Linked DNA regions of Homo sapiens: region 2 is linked to region 1. The links are contacts of gene promoters, found by promoter capture Hi-C in human tissues and cell types (Jung and others, 2019). All regions are on one chromosome and are shown on one strand. The core of a region is centred on a gene start or on the middle of the fragment in contact, and the rest is flanking DNA. Distances in the headings are between cores, read along the strand shown. Region 1 holds the start of IMPG1 (interphotoreceptor matrix proteoglycan 1). Region 2 overlaps IMPG1 (interphotoreceptor matrix proteoglycan 1).

Evidence for each region. The method cuts DNA at HindIII sites, captures the fragments that hold promoters and counts their contacts. A contact is called where the count stands out against the background at its distance.
Region 2: a fragment that was not itself captured here is called in contact with the fragment with the promoter of IMPG1 in region 1 in 2 of the 25 tissues and cell types used here (aorta and dorsolateral prefrontal cortex).

Annotation. Positions count from the first base shown.
Region 1 is chr6:76,071,318-76,073,994 of GRCh38, forward strand. IMPG1 (interphotoreceptor matrix proteoglycan 1) reads right to left here and starts at 1,345. Exons shown (of 17, transcript NM_001563.4): 1 at 1,105-1,345. The coding sequence starts at 1,171. The HindIII fragment of the contact is 12,797 bases long and covers 1-2,677 here.
Region 2 is chr6:76,005,115-76,007,791 of GRCh38, forward strand. IMPG1 (interphotoreceptor matrix proteoglycan 1) reads right to left here. Exons shown (of 17, transcript NM_001563.4): 9 at 2,366-2,386; 10 at 173-420. Among named protein-coding and RNA genes, the nearest start is that of IMPG1, 66 kb to the right of the region's middle. The HindIII fragment of the contact is 3,967 bases long and covers 1-2,677 here.

The sequences.
Region 1 (2,677 bases), core at 95-2,594:
AGTCAAATTGGTTTACTTCATCAGATTCAGTTCAGAATATACCAAAATCTCATTATTTATTTCTAATTAAAATGATTTTATAAATGTAAATATTTATATATAATTGATAATTTAATGAAAAAGTAAATAAATTTTGCTTCTTTCACTATTGTGAAAACATGAAGAAATCTTTTCCAGAAATTTTTTTCTCCCTCCAAATGCAATCACTGAGAAGTTTCATATAACATGACTGATGGAATCACAGTTATTTTGTGACTTACACATGCAATGACTATTAATTTTACTTTTTCATGGATATTCCAAACCAATACTTTAGTTAAAATGTTTATCATCATGAAGCTATGTCATTCTTAAAGAAATTCTTAACCTTATTGACTTCAAATGTCTTAAAAAGATTGAGTATATTATGATAGGTAGGCTTATCCTTATATAAAAAAGTCAAACTTTCTCCAACATGTGTGTTTCTTTTTTAAAACACACATTATTTTTCTTAAAACATCCTGTTTGTGGCTTATTTTAATTTCATATTCAGATGCAGATTTGCCATAAGAACATACATTGCCTAGTTCTTTTATGCGTACAACTTCAAAAACAACCAAATTTTGAAGTGGTTGTCATCATGAACCCTGAAGATGAAGAATGTTTGCTATTTTCTAAGGGAAAGCAACTCATGATTTCATTGTGAGAAGGTAAGAAATACTTACTTTTTTTTGTCTGACCATAAATGACTTAAAACATTACTTTTATCTTTAGGTTTTATTTGTTGAATTTCGGTGGATAAATGGAGTTAGTTTCACAGATCTACTAATATTATTTACATTAATAATAAGAATTTTCAATGAATGTTTTAGAACAGCAAATAGGATGCATTCATCTCTCCTATTTTGTTAATCTTCACTGCACTTAAGACCATGTAGTAAATATTAAATCAAGTGAAAATCATTTCTGATAGTTAATTATTCAATCAATCAAGCAATATTTATTCAAGGCCTACTATATACTAGCCCGTGAGATCAATTGGTAGCCTTGTTGGTTCTAAATATTCACTTCTATCGGTAGATTTTATAGATAAGCAATTTAAAAGTAAACATTTAAGTAACTTACCTTTGGTTCCTTGAACTTGGAGAAAAATCCAAAAAACAAAAATAGCTCTTCTAGTTTCCAAATACATTCTGGCTTTTGTGCATTGGTAATTCTGATAACAATCACAGAACAACCTCAAATCTCATTAAAAAGTAACAGAAATGTGAAAAATAATTATATATTGATACCAGATGATTGAGGATAACCTTCTTGGTTTACCTTTATGAGGGTGTTAATTTATGAAGAACATGTAGCAGTGTCTGTTTCTGGAATAATCTGCTTGTCTTTCCCTCAGGTGTAATCTCTGCTTAAGGGCCAGCTGGAGGAACCTTTATCTCATTAACCTTCTGGAGGAGCATCTGTCAGCCTAGCTCCAGGACCCTGAATGCCATTATAAACAAGTGTCTACAGACACAGTTTTTTCTTAGTTATTCACCTGTTACAGTGACACAGAGAGCCAGGGGAAGTTCTGCCAAACAGAGAATAAGGCTGACAGTTAGGGTCAGATGTTTTCTAAAATGACATGTACAAGAAACATCCATTAAAAGAGCTTAATTTCTGTCCCTGAAAGTATATGGTTATCCAATATGTATTAGTCTCCACAGATAGCGAAACTGTCTCCATTCTCTTCTATGTTCTGCTTTATAAATTGCTTTTGATTTGGAATTACATACAGGTGGCTTTTTTGATTTAAGTCTGGTTTTAATGTTTAAAATCTGTATGCACTGTGTTTAAGGGGTCAAATACTTTTTTTCTACAAAGTTTGTAAGAAAAAATTGTGCCTTTCTTCTACCCATGCCTTCTTTCAAAGGGGAGCCATTTTTACTTCATCAACCTAATTCTTCTAGTAGTCTCATTTGCACTTCTAAATAACATGCCTCTATTACTATTTTGGAGGTTTTCACTTTTAGGTATTATCAAATAATAGATATTGAGAATAACTTCACTTCCACACATACCCTTTCTACTCATTGTAAACATCTTTCCATCTTTCTTCATCAGTATTATTGTAATTTCAGTTTTTGAATATTTGATTTTATATTATTTTGACTATACATGCTACATATTGCTGAGTCATGAAACACACTGCAACTACTACTGTATATGGAGCTCTTGTGTTGTGGATAGACATTGTTCTTAGAGATGTCCATAGATTATCCATAGATTCCTCAATATGACAATATAAACACTGTTAATACTATCTCTTTTAAATTTGAGGAGAATAAAGTATATGTGGCAGAGCTAGGATTTAAACCTAAAGAGTCTGGTTCAAAAGCCTACACCCTTTTTTTTTTTTTTTTTTTTTTTTGAGATGGGGGTCTCACTCTGTCACCCAGGTTGGAGTGCAATGGCGTGGTCTTGGCTCATTGGCTCATTTCAGCCTCAACTTCCATGGGGTCAGGTGATCCTCCCACCTTAGCCTCCTGAGTATCTGGGACTGTAGGCAGATGCCACCACACCTGGATAATTTTTTGTATTTTTTGTAAAGATGAGGTTTCACCATGTTGCCCAGGCTGGTCTCGAACTTCTGGGCTCAAGTGATCCAGCAGCCTTGGCCTCTCAAAGTGGTGGAATTATAGGTGTGAGCCACGCA
Region 2 (2,677 bases), core at 82-2,581, 66 kb before region 1:
TGAGACACAGGAAGGAGTGAGAAAAGCTAGAAATGATACCATATGTATTCCTGTCACAGTAATGATCGACTTTAGAAGACCCAAGTTAAAATGACAGTTTCCATGAGACATTCACATTCTTAGTCTCTGCCAAAATGAGAATAAACTCAGAACTAAGCAATCATTAACTGACCATCAGTGAACTGAATTGTCCCCACATCCAAAGATTGTTCTTCCTCTAGTGCTTTGCTGATCAGCCTTTTGAGGTCTGTAGCTGTGAGATAGATTTCTGGTTGCTTGTCCTCCTCCATGGTTCCATGATAGACTTCCTCACTTTCAATTTTGTTGGAATCAAAAGACAGGAGGTCACTTGCAGGGCTTTTTGCTTCTGCACTGTGTCTCTTAAAGATGGCCGTAAGTTGCATCTCTGTGGAGCTTGAGCTGTAGATAGCAGAGGACACATTCCCCACCCAAAGCCATTGTTACATGCCTTGCAAAGAGAATCACTAGATTGCTACAAAGCTTCAGGATAGCTTCCACCTCTTTCCTGATGGGCTCGGAGAGAATATCCCACTTTAAAACATTTCAACATTTATCAGAAACTTAAAATATGAAAAAAGAATAAATATATCTTTTAGTTCTAAAATAGAATGGCAGGAGGGAGGTCAGTCCACCTCAAAGAAGGATTACTAACTGAATCAAGTGACCATAGATTTTTACTTTAGGTTTTTTTTTTTCTTTCTTTCTTTTATTTTTTTTTTGCGACAGGGTCTCACTCTGTTACCCAGGCTGGAGTGCATTGGCATGGTCATGGCTCACTGTAGCCTTGAAGTCCTGGGGCCCAGGTGATCCTTCTGCCTTATCCCCCAGCATAGCTGGGAACACAGGAAGGAAGTGGGCTAATTTTAAATTTTTTTGTAGAGACAGAGTCTTGCTGTGTTGCCCAGACTGGTTTCAAACTCATGGCTCAAGCGATCTGCCTGCTGTGGCCTCCCAAAGTGCTGAGGTTACAGGCCTGAGCCACTGTGCCCACCTAGGTCTTTTTGAAAAAGTGCTTTTTGTCAAAAAAGTTGCTGGTATTGACCACTATTTTTTGTGATCTTATAAGTCATGCCGTGCCAATCAGGAAGAAGGATGAATTATCCTTTCTTCTACAAATAGCCTCCTTTAGGAAGGTCTATGAAATAGCAATGTAAGATATAGCAGTAGGACAATAGTATATATATATATGTATATTATATATATGCACACAATATATATATACTATTATGCATATACACATATATGTAAAATATATATATATAGTATATATATGTAAAAAAAGTCCAAATTACCCATCCATATACCCATATATGGGTATGTGTGTATATACATATGTATATAGGTGTATATATACACACATATATATACACCTATATACATATGGGTATATATACGTGTGTGTGTGTGTATGTGTATATATATATATACATATGTGTTGTAACCAAGTCAAAGGTTCAGTTCTTAAGGCTATTTCTTTTCTACTTTTTTAAAATAAGTATTTTTTAATTAAAAAAATACAACTTTAAATGATACATAATACTCTTTTCCCTCAAGCTGCTTTTAAAATAACATCTTAGAAGGAAGGTGTGAGAAAAGAGAAAAATAAGCAGGACATAGGTAACTGTATTTATTATCCTATTCATTAACTCAAAGCTTTTTTGCATGCAAAAATGAAACAGGATTCTCTATGTCTCTGTCCTCAGGAATTAGGTTTTACCTTTAGTTCATGTCATAAATCTAGACAGAGTGATGTAGAAGTGTTTTAAAGGCCACAGAAACTGATCACGTGTATTCTTGGTGGTTTTTCAGATGACACAATCATTTAGAGTCTATCGTTTGTTATTTCACTAGTCAATTACAGAGCCAAAGTTGATTCTTATTACTGAGCTCTCCAAGGTATAGTGGGCCCTTTTCTCAGTTCACATTGACCTTGGAAAGGAGCAAATTAGTTTCTCTGCTTTATTCCAGACTTAGGTTGATTCCATGTATGTGTGTGCTTTCAGATAGACAACTGCCCATTACAAATGGCATTTAAGAAATAAATTATGCTTGCAGCACAGATAGTGTTTTTATGTTTTTCTAACTATACCTTGAGTATGATAAAATCCTGTTCAGCTGACCAAGGAAATATTTACCTGTATCCCACATAGTGACTTTGATAAGAGAATTTTTTTTTTTTTAACTACTGGACAATTGTTCAATTACTTCCATTTAAATAAGAAACCATCAAAAAGTAATGGGCTTATCCAAGACATTATATGTAAAAATTATTTGTGCAAAATCAGTATATAAATTTGGGGGAGACGGGAATGTACTATATTTCAAAACTTAAAGTCCAAATTACCCATCTTTTTCTTTCTTTGGTCTTCATTTCATCATGCACAATGGAAACATGAAAAAGAGAAAAAAATTTAATGACATTTATTGAGACATTCAATGAATTATTTTATATACAAAAGAAAAAAATATTTCTTTCCATTGTCTCTTTTGTTTGTTCAGAGCTTTGAAAGATTCATATAAACTGCCATCAGAATTTGAATGGAAACTTTGAGAGAGATATGAATCTAAGAAGTAAACATCATTATATGTTTCTGATTAGGATTTGAGCCTTAGTTCAAAGATTATCTGCACTTTTGGTCTTCTTCTTACATTCCTT